3 separate regions of the Homo sapiens genome follow, and regions 2 and 3 are each linked to region 1. Evidence: promoter capture Hi-C in human tissues and cell types (Jung and others, 2019). All regions are on one chromosome and are shown on one strand. The core of a region is centred on a gene start or on the middle of the fragment in contact, and the rest is flanking DNA. Distances in the headings are between cores, read along the strand shown.

Evidence for each region. Contacts are between HindIII fragments. The study calls those that stand out against the background at their distance.
Region 2: a fragment that was not itself captured here is called in contact with the fragment with the promoter of PPFIA2 in region 1 in 1 of the 25 tissues and cell types used here (dorsolateral prefrontal cortex).
Region 3: a fragment that was not itself captured here is called in contact with the fragment with the promoter of PPFIA2 in region 1 in 1 of the 25 tissues and cell types used here (lymphoblastoid cells).

Annotation. Positions count from the first base shown.
Region 1 is chr12:81,757,851-81,761,871 of GRCh38, reverse strand. PPFIA2 (PPFI scaffold protein A2) reads left to right here and starts at 2,522. Exons shown (of 33, transcript NM_003625.5): 1 at 2,522-2,592; 2 at 3,365-3,472. RefSeq lists an enhancer at 2,724-3,662. The HindIII fragment of the contact is 8,978 bases long and covers 1-3,529 here.
Region 2 is chr12:82,341,156-82,345,045 of GRCh38, reverse strand. No RefSeq gene overlaps it. Among named protein-coding and RNA genes, the nearest start is that of CCDC59, 15 kb to the left of the region's middle. The HindIII fragment of the contact is 4,522 bases long and covers 1-3,520 here.
Region 3 is chr12:82,363,517-82,367,330 of GRCh38, reverse strand. All of the region lies in intron 1 of METTL25 (methyltransferase like 25), which reads right to left. Among named protein-coding and RNA genes, the nearest start is that of METTL25, 6.9 kb to the right of the region's middle. The HindIII fragment of the contact is 3,139 bases long and covers 395-3,533 here.

The DNA.
Region 1 (4,021 bases), core at 1,273-3,772:
GGAGTGTATAGACAAAAAAACTCATAATTAAAATAAAATGTTAAGAAGAAGCATTAGTACATGTGGCTACTATAATATTATATTCTGGTGTGGACTACTTTGATTGATATTAGGCACTAAGACTAATAATGGCTTTCACTACTTCTACTTAAATCTGGTTGACTATTCAGGAGACAAGCATATCTCATCTTAATAATTCATTGGGCATCAAAAACAGTAGAGTCAGATTTATATTAGTATGGGGGATGTTTTTTCTTTGAATAAAAAATATTTCCCTGTTCTTTTTTTTTTTTTTTTTTTTTGCTCTGTGCTTCTTTTGTTCCCAAATTTCTCCAGATGTATCTACACAGTGTTTCTCAGAGTGGGATCCCTGACCTAGCAATATTAGTACCACCTGGGAACTTAATAGGCACGTAATGAATCAGATGTAATGAATCAGAAACTCGAAGGATAGGGCCCAGCAATCTGTGTTGTAACAAGCCCTTCTGGAGTGTCTCTTGTATGCTAAATTTAAGGGCCTAAACTAGAGAAACTGGTGCAGGTGGTAACTCTTCTCATGTGAATCGGCTCACCTAATGCCTCATGCAAAATTGCTACTTTAAACAGTCTTTCTCAGTTTTAATATATTATTTACACTCTTTGCAGTGAAGTTAGCAGTGATAATGTCAAGTTTTTCAGCTGAAATTTACTATGAAGACTGTATCTTCTTAACAAAATATCCTTTAACTCGTGATATTTTTTTCTGCCTCCCATTATCAAAGTTTTTCTTTCTGCGATACCTACCATGGGTTAGCCTTTAACTATGCTGTGTCAACTGTATGTGGGGATTATACTTACAATTAAAACTTGTATTTGACATACGAATGGGACTCAAGGAAATCAAAACTCTTCTTGGAAACAGTAGGAACATCTGAGCCAGTAATTAACAAACGTTGATTGCCAAGGAAATTCAAACCAAGGTTTAATAAGGAAGGAATTCTTGTAAAAATAGACATAATAGCTATATGTAAAAATAAGAATATCTCTCATGTATAAGGAATTTTTATGTTTTGTGTAGAATTCTAGAGAGTGAAAGTTATGAGTACTGATATATGATTAGTATGTTGAAGCTATTACAATATGAAGTTTGTCTGAAAATAGACTAGGCTATCCTGTGAGGTGAAGAGTTTCCTGTAGTTAGGGGTATTTAAGCCACATCAAATTGTGGGTCGATTGGGTGGTCTAGACCCTTCCTCCTCAAGTGTAGTACCATCTGGGAGTCATTAGAAGGGTAGAATTTCAGGTTTCACCCCATTCCTGGTGAATCAGTATCTACAACTTAACAAGATCCATGGATGATCTGTATGCACATTATGTCTGAGAAATAGTGCTCCAGTTGACATCTAATGAATTTTCGTATTATTTTTATACTTCTTATAGGATTGTGTTGTGTTGTAAAATTTAAATAACAGTCTAGAATAGAAGTTGGGTAAATACATGAGCTTTACCCCACTTTCCATTGTAAAGTCGCTAACTGAATTAAATACTTCCCTCAGAAACAAAGATTGTTTCTTGGATATTGTAGTTAATTTTAAGTGAACAGTTATTTACATACTAGTTCTTTGTTAACTTTGGACTCTTGGCGTTACACAAAAGTAAAACACGTCTTTTGGCTTTCGTGTAGCACACTCAGAATATTTTCAGTAACCCCCAAAATATATTCAGTGTTTAATCCTCCAATTCCTTCATGCATGTCCTCTTCATTTTCACCAAACCCAGCAGGATTCGTGACTCTCCCTCACAGAAACGTTCCCTTTCTGCTCAGAGTAGGTACTGATTTTGTCTCCTGCTTCCTCAGTCTGTATGAATGGACAGCAGCAACGGAAAGAAAAGAGGGTAGGTAAAGGGAGGTGGAGATATAAGGGGGACTGGAGCGCGATGGAGAGACCAGACTCTGCTCAAAGCTAAAATTTACTCGGGCAGGGAATACTTAACATACAATTCCCATTACCAAAACAATATGAATGAAGAAGAACTGAAGAGGTAATGAGAAATGACAGATGCCGCCACACCCTAGATTGGCTCAGGTCCCTACAACCATGACTACCATGCCCTGGCCCAGTGGGAAGAAAGCTGCTTAAAGAAATGACAAGCACAGAAGACCGGGGAGCCAAAAGGTGCCCAAGTCCGTTCCCATCCCCACCAGCGCAGGCTGACACAAGCGAAGGCTGTAGAGCCCATTGTGTGAAAGAAGCCCAGGCGGGGAAGCGTGTGCCCCCTTCCCACTTTGCCCATCCCTGGCCCTCGCCTTCGCAGGGGGCACTGGGAGCAGAGCGAGCCTCGGCAGCCCGGGAGCGGCTCTGGGGGAGACGAGTGTATCCGCGGGCGCGTGTGCGTGAGGAGGAGAGCAAAGACGTGATTACTTCAGAATTTATTTAAGGGCCGGTGGAAACCACTGCAGCAGCTTCCAGGGGAAGCCCTTGTTCCAGAGGAAGAGGAGGTGGTGGCTGCCAAGGAGGAGGAGGGGAGGAGACGGAGGAGGAGGAGTAGCAGCCACCGCACGAGGCAAGTGAGGAGAGAAGATGCTGTAGCGTCCTCACCGGCTGCCAGCAGGTTGGTTCTTCCGGCCAATTGAAGCAAGCAAAGAGGCTTGCAGAAAGGCCGGGAGGAGAAAAATGGGTGTGTGTGCTGTGGCGGCGGGGGGGCGGCGGGGGGGAGGGAAGGGGGGCCGGGGGACGGCGTGGGGTGATGTTTGCCTTTCCAGAGAAAAAGCGCCTCCTTTAAGTGAAACGAGACACGGGAGCGCGCGGAAACAGGCTGGGGGCCAGGAGGAGACCTGTCCTGCTTTTTGCATCCCTAGGGACTCGTTTTCCTTTAGGTTTCTAACTCCCAGGGTTAGCCTTAAACTCCAGAGGGGCTCCAGGAGGGGAGACTGGGTGGAGAACTTCTCTCCCAGATACTTCTCACGCCTTTTCTCCAAGCTTTCTTTTGGAGGGACGCCCCACACACCCCGGGTGGCCCGGGCGCGGAGGGGGAGCGGCGCCGCGTGGTTAAGTTTCTGAAAGTCAAACCCAGTCCCCGGTCTCCGGTCTCCGCCCCGGGGCTCCAGCTGCACGCGGGGAGCTGCGGCTGTTCTGGCAAAGGGGCCGCGGCTGCTTTAAGAGCCGCCTCCCCCTCTCCTCCTTTGACAATGGTCTGAACCGAGCTTTGCTTCCCAAAGCAAAATTTGTAATATGCCATTTTTCCGATGGACGCTTCTCCTTTTGGCTGCTGACGGAGCCACGGGAAGATGCCGAGCTCCTGCCACGCCACCGGGCCGGGGCACGTTCCGGGAGGGCGCCGGGGCACGCGTGTGTCTGAGCTGCCTTTCTCCTCCCGTTGCTAGGGAAATGGTCCAGGAGTGCTGGGTGTGAGCCTCCCTTCTCCTCAAGCCGGAGACTGCGGTTGTCATTGATCAATTGAAGAAGCAAGGACCCGAAATCACAGACATTAGGTACAGAAGCTGTCTTTGAGTTTTACTGTCTCCTTTCGCTGTATTTTTTGACCACCTCCCCGGCCCCACCCCGCCCCCAGGGAAGATGAGATGCAAATTCCTCCTTGTTGATTACCGTTAGGTGCCTTTTGCTTTCACCTCATCCTCTCCATCTCCTATCTCTCTACCTCCTGCCTACTTGGCTGTGTCCTGTTGGGCAGGATGAACAATTTTAGTGTGGAAATGATGAAGTCAACTTCTTCAAGGTGGTGGGGGGTGTGGCTGAGAGATAACTGTCCAGTAGTGTGGGTTGAGCTGGCTCTGGCTGTCCGTAAATGCACTAGGGTAAAGAAAGTGTAAAATGTGTCCATTAAAGGTGATAATCATATTTCCCGAGGACAGAGGCTTTCAAAGAGTTAAATAGGAGGGAGAATATTCATGTAATGTAATCAGACAATGGCTAGGATTTCTCTCACTGAATTACTCCTTGTAGGTTAACTGAGGTGGAGCTGGGATGGTTCTTAAGACTAAATGTTTTCAGAAGAAACTCACTATGGATAATAATTACAT
Region 2 (3,890 bases), core at 10-2,509, 580 kb before region 1:
GAATAAGCATAAAGAAACTCTGTTAGATCTTTCCACTAACCCAGAAAATTCACTGTTAGCATTACCCCAGTCTTAAAGAGAAGTAGAATGAGTAAAGGAGACACTGAAGATGACACTGTCCAAATTTTCATAAACATTTAATTTTCCCAGGTCTACATTTTCCCACTATCATTAATAACCATGTAGTCCTCTCCTCAGAGCTCCCATGGGCTTTCTATAAGATCATTACAAGACACCTTCCACCACTAGGAAAAACTTTACTGATGCATGCAGACCTACCTGGATGGTGTCAGAAACTAACCTCCTTTACTCAGTCTTATGCACAGCAGGGATGAGCTACCTCTTCAAAGGAAACAACTCAACATTTTGCATGACCTCCAACCCAAGAAGTGTGTCATTTAGAAGACATATTGTATTAGTTTCCTAGGGCTACAATAACAAAGTACTACAAGGTCAGTGTCTTAAAACACAAAAATGTATTGTCTTACTGTTCTGGAGGCCAGAAGTCCGAAACCCAAAATCAAGGTGTAAGGAGGGCCATGCTCCCTTTGAAGATGCGTCACAGGGAAAGATTGGTTCCAGGATTCTCTTCTGGCTCTGGTAATTCCTTTGGCTTATGGCATCATAACTCCAGTCTTCACATGTTATTCTTCCTGTGTGTATGTCTCTGTGCCCAGATTTTCTTTTTTATTAGGACACCAGTCATTGAATTAGGGTCTACCCTAATTACTGCATTTTAATTTGATTTCATATGTAAAGATTATATCTCCAAATGAAGTAACATTCTGAGGTCCTGGAGGATATAACTCCAATGTATTTTTTTGAGGATACACAATGCATAACACATCAATGTAAAAATGCTTTACAACATTGCTGGGACACCGTTTTTGTTTCTTCTGTGTCACTGTGGAAACAACTGCCAACCCAAATCAGTAGGTTTCTTTCACATGAGATATTAAACTGAGGCTACATCAAAAGCCTTCAGAAGCAGACAACTTTAAGAGACAGTCATCCTGCCCAATAACCCTGAACCAAGGAGATGACAGTGGTATCATCTTCTGTCCCTGAGACAACAAAATAAAACACAGCAGAATGAATTCCTTAGGAAACCTTTCCCTTTTAATAATTATTATTCTGGCATTCTTTGGTGATTTAGCCTAAATATCATGAGATCATTCTTTTTTTCTCAGCACTTAACCACATTCAGTTCTTAGTACTGTATATTCAGAATACATAGTGACAGCCTGTGCATTTGTATTGCAAAAATGACTGTGTATATGAAAACTTTCTTTTTCATACACAGAATATCTCCATACTACCAGTCCCTTGTAATTCCAGTTATTCCACATCTGTGATGGCTCTAGTCCCCAGTGGTCATAATCCACTTGAGGTTTGTGAAACCTTTCTTGTGATTCTCTGAAGAGGCCCAATTTACCTGATTGAAAATTACACAAGTCATGTGGTCTGAATGGGGACAAACTTTGTTATAACTCAGTTTCAGGGGCTAAAAACAATAGTTCTCATCACAAATATGTCAGTTTCAGCAATATTTGAGAAACGAAAAATATCAAAGTAATAAAGGGAAATAAGACAAAAAGTCTTTAGTGCAAGTCTTAAAGATTGATTTGTAAGTAACTCCTTCCTCCCTATTCCAATTGGGTTTGTGGAACTGCAGCTTACTAGCTATTACCTGCTAACTGATTAGGCTTAGTCATTTAGCCTTCCTTATGTCAGTCTTGCAGATTGACAGGATCTATTAGAGATGGCAAAGAAATATTTTGTCCATCAAAAATAGTTCATCACTGGCCAGGTGGGTTCATTAGTTCAAGGAAAATTTCGACTTGTTTTGTTTATAGCAATACAATGTCGCTGTATACCTTTCAGAAAATTATTATCTCAATGAAACAACTCCATGGCTGAACTTCTGATATATGGTGATATTTAAATGATGATATATCCTAGAGTTGACTAAATTCTTTATGGTCAAATCTTCTCCTCTGGGATAGAGGAAAAACTACAGGAAGGAACTGATGAAGTTTGACGCCTTGGACACATCACCTACAAAGCAGAGTCAGCCAAATGCTATAATCCCAAATTAGGGAACTCACACAGCAGAGGAGCTTAGGTAGTATAAAATACCCCACACAAACAATCCAGCCAGCTCAGTATTTACTTAATCCACAAACTCAGATATAGCCATCCCCAGAACATCACTGAGAAACTTTACTTTCCTAATACAGAACAGAGATGGTTCAGGATCTTGGGGATATAGAGGATCTACTCTATCTCTCCTTCTCTAAGTTTCTTTTGTGGGAGCCTCCAATATTATATACATATGCATACATATATATGTGTGTATAGGTATATATATACACACATGCATACATACACATATATACATATATGTATATATACATACACACATATATACATATATATGTATATATACATACATATACACATATATACATATATACACACACATATACATAATATATATGTTTTATGTATCATGTATAAAATTTTACAACAGGAATAGAAAAACAAGTAGAGGAACCTTGCTTGGGTTAAAAAGTATTGAGTTTGTTAGATTTACACCTGAGTAGGCCTCAAATTATCTGTTCACAGCAGTGGAGAAAGTCAAGTGCATCTTTAATACCATTCATTCCCTCTTGCCATCCTTAAGAAAACATCTTTTGGAAATTCTACTTGAGTCACTGTGGCTATACATTTTGAAGGTTAATTTTTATGCTTTTAAATGTAGATTAAAAAGTGAATTTATTTTAAAAGCATTGGCATTTTTGTGTGACTAGCATTTTATGCTTGCATGTTGAAAATGGTATTTTGGATTTCTTTTGTCTTCATCTATGTACAAGTTGGCACTCATGTATCATCTTAAGTTATAAACATTCACAATGACTGTTTTCCCTAGTTAAACATGATAAACTACTGGTAAATTCATTCATTACATTCTTACTCCCAAACTGCATTTCTAGGCAAATTTATGTTTGGTATGCTTTATTAATAGAGTAAGAAGAAAATCAAAGTTTTGAATAAGAGAAAAGAGGCTTACAATTTACAATAACCCATTGCTAGCCACTTAAAAATTTTTGAGATGTATTCTGCAATATGAATAATTATGATCTATAATTATGGATATTCATATATTCCTTAAAGAGTATATGCTCTATCATCAATTCTGAAGTCTTATCTGCATTCTTCAATTTTATAGGGATATTTTTACATTAGTAGCCTAAAAAGTGGACCACTCAGATGAGTCATGCCTACAACCTTTTTGTATACATAGAAATTTTACCAGTAAGACGTATGTACTGTTCTAGGAAATTAGAAACCACTAATCTAATATGAAAAATGAGAATTTTTCTTTGCTGTTGGTTGAAATAGTTTATCAGTATGCAGTATTCTGCTGTTCCAATAATTACTGAAATTGAGAAACATTATTAATGATTTATGTAGAGTATGATAGGAACAAATATGTTTGAATTATTAACTTACATATTTACAGTTTGGCTAAGGATGGAATCTATGTTTAGAGTTGTGATTACAAAATTATTACTCAGTTGTCACTTTTAAAAAAACCTATTAAAGACTTTTTGAGAACTAGCTTAAACGTTTTATCTTGGAATACACTGAAGAAATGACAAATCTGAGTTTGGCTTCTGACACAGTGAAACTGGGACATAGAGCTTCAAGATTAGACACTGAAGTAATAATAAATACTACTCTAAGGCCTTCCTAAAAGTGGCTCAATTAACTAAACTCATATATATTTCTTTCATTTAGAATTCATGGTAACAGAATTCTAAATGTAATTTAGAATTTATAGTAACAGAATTCTAAATGTAATTTAGAATTTATACATGGAGAGA
Region 3 (3,814 bases), core at 715-3,214, 610 kb before region 1:
AACAGGTAACCATAACTATAAGCTTACAAGGAAAGTTTAATGATTTGATATAAAATTTTAAAAATCCAAACGAATAGAGGCAACCAAATATATGATGATTGGCTAAACACAGGAAAACAGTATAATATAAGTAGAATGAGGAAAAATGCAACAGATGAAAGGAATCTCCATGAACTCTGTTTTACTGAACTTCTAATAATTGAAAGATATGGGGAAAGGGGAAAGTAGTGGAGGAGGTACCATTAAAAATTAGAAAACAAATTTAAGTTCTAAATAGTTTTATTTAAAAGGAAAATCTGAAGACACTTTCTATATCTCAAACAGACAAAAAGAAAAATTATCCTTGGTTCTCAAAGATTTGTTTGCATTGCAGCTCTCTCTTACTTATGATTACAGAAGTTCCCCTGGAATGGGGCTAACACTGGCCACTATCTTGTTATAATGTAATATTATTTTTACATTTGAAATCTAAAATGACTCAGAAAAACTGAAAAAGAGAAAATGGAATTCAGAAAAATATATAAGGAAAGTGAATGAATAAAAGTTACATACAGCAGAGTAAAACAGAACACACTAATTATTTCTCCGTTGTGCTCTCACTGTCTGTTTCCAACAACATACTTTCTGCCTTCATGTGTTTCAAATTAAATATGAGCGCAATTTCAATGCATTCGAATTACTACCACCACCAACAATAAAAACTACTTAGGATGGCCAAGAAAACATTTAATTTATTAAGATGCAAAAAAAAAAAATAAAGACAAGCTTGATAAAAGAATAATCTATCATGGACATACACTTTCTGTGTTGTTCAATTAAAATGGTAGTAAAATAATTACACCAGATGATCACCAAAAGGAACTGATTCTATAAACATTTACTCAGCACCCAATCCTGGTAGGATCATTTGAGTAATAATGTGAAACAGGAGAAGCAGCATATGGCGTCAAGAAACTGAAAGAAAAGTCAAGAGAAAGTCCCTGGAGGCTCAGTGCCTTAGAGGATCCCTATGCTTTGGCAGGCACAGAAGCTGGAATTCCTGAGAGTTCATTAGGCTATCCCCAGCTAATTTAAATAACATTATAAGATGTTGACTTTGAAATACAAATGTATTAGTTTCCACTGAGAAATATACCTATAACAATAATCTGTAACACTCATTTGTTAGGATAGTCTCCTAATTTTAGAATTACAATGAGAACAAATGAGGCCAGGTATTCTTTTTTTTAAAATTTTTTTAAATTTTTTTGAGACGGAATCTCACTCTGTTGTCCAAGCTGGTGTGCAGTGGCGCAGTCTCGGCTCACTGCAAGCTCTGCCTCCTGGGTTCACACCATTCTCCTGCCTCAACCTCCCGAGTAGCTGGGACTACAGGTGCCCGCCACCATGTCTGGCTGATTTTTTGTATTTTTAGTAGAGACGGGGTTTCACTGTGTTAGCCAGGAGGGTGTCGATCTCCTGACCTCGTGATCCCCCCGCCTCGGCCTCCCAAAGTGCTGGGATTGCAGGCGTGAGCCACCGCGCCCGGCCGAGGCCAGATATTCTTAAAATTTTCAGCAAGCTAAGTAAGCTGCTTAAGTTGCTTCTGTTGTTTTGATCTATTTCTGTTTCATAAAATATTTTAGCTATCCTGACTTAGACTATCTCTCCCCTCTTGCTTTTCAGAAGAATTTTCTAGATTCCATTAAACAACAATTAATTTCTGAAGATCAATGATGATTCTGCTGAGAATGTTACAGATTTACACTTACAGTCATTACTTCCCAAGAACACAGTCTGGTTTCCTTGAAGGAGCTATAATGAAATCTTAATCTCCAAAATAAGATATAGGTCATATTTATCCTATCAGCAAAATATTTAGAAGCTGTCTCTACTGGCTTTTTTGCTGCAGATGGTTAATCTCGCCTATATTATGTACTAACTTTTAGACATTTTAACCTGAAGTGATACTTGTTCTGATTTTATGTCCAAATTCCCAGGGTATTTTATTGTAATCTGTAATGTACTAAATAAAGTACTATATTTCCACATAGGGAAAGAACAGTTATTGATTTGTGTCTCTTCAAATAAATTTAAAAATCTATTAGTTGGATCATATAACTAATATTTATTATCATACACAATGATCATAAATATAACTCAGGGATCAACCAGAAATAATATATGTCTAGTTGAGTACTAGGTATGTGCAAGGAGTGCCTTCAATAAGACTCTTTATTAGATCTATGTTTAACTTCATTCTTTCAAGAATTATTTAAACATGATGTACACAATAAACATACATAATTTTTATTTGCCAATTAAAAATAAACAATTTTAATGTAAAAATAGAATCATTTAATTTACTCATCTATAAACAGAAACTGTTTATGATGCTGAAAATAGTGAAAAAGACAAACATTGTACCTTTGTTTTTTGATAGTTTATAATTTAGTTGCAGATACAGACAAGCCAACAGACAATAACAATAGTATGTTATTTATTAATATGGCAAAAAATATATTTGTTTAGAACATAAACTTCCAGGAACTCTGGACAATTTATTTCTTCCAAGTAAAGACCTAATTATACCATCACTACCAATCATCATCACAACCATCACAATCATGTATTAGCCACAATTTATTAACCCATGCTATATTCTCAGTTCTATGCTAGGTGCTATGTATACATCATCTTTAATCTTTGCTGTCCTAGAAGGTAGGTAATATTATCCCTACTTTTAAAAAAGGAAAGAAAAAACCCCAGATGTAACAGACAGATGTCAGCTCATAGCTGACCTTGAACTAACATGTAGGCCACAGTCTTTCCTACTAAACATGAAAAATTTCTCAGTACACCAACATCAGACAAGGTTTGTGACCATGCCAACTTCATAATCATGTCTGAGTGCAGACAAAAACAAGAACGTCATGTAAACACAAAGTTGCCACAAAAGCATCCCCGTAGGAAAAGTTCACATGGTATGAAACTGAGACCTCATGCCAACAGCCTGCACCAACTAGCCACCTCCGTGAATGAGATATTATGGCCACCTATGCGAATGAAATATTATGGCCACCTATGTGAATGAGATAATCACAGAGGCAAATATTTCAGCCTCAATCAAGCCTTCAGCAACTACAGCCCCAGCCAACTTCTTGACTGTGACCTCTTAAGATCCCAAACCAGATCCACCCAGTTAATCTGCTCCTGAATTCCTGACCCACAAAAACTGATGAGATAGTATAGGTTTAAACCACTTGTTATGCAGCAATAGATAATACATAACATTAATACAATTGTGTGTCGGTAAGTGTGTACTTTTCATTTCAAAGGGGCATAAAGTAGGTACTATAATTAAATATTCCTTAATACCATAGTTTCCTTTAATTCTCCCAGTGTATTTTCTTGGAGCTCTTTAAACATATTTATAACAGCCACTGAAATCCAACACGTTAGCCCAATTAGGATCAGCACTTATTGACTTACTCTTTTTTTCCTAAATACGGGTCACACTATCCTTCAATTCTTTCATCATAGGTACTAAAATCCAGCATTAGGGCTTACTTGGAATTAGTTTCCTAAGTTAGAGTCACACTTTCCTTTTTTTTTTTTTTAAACATCTAGTTTTTTTTAGTTGAAAAATGGAATGGCAGATACTTTATTGTAGTGAATCTATTTTGTTTTCCTAAGGATTTGTGGTGGTTGTTGTTCTATTAATAGTGGGAAGTCAACTTGTTTTGACTCAAACTGTGAAAACTATCCCCCCTTCAGAGTGCAGCAGCTGATGTCTCTGCTTAGTTGCTTTTTATTTACCCACTGTCTGGTGGTA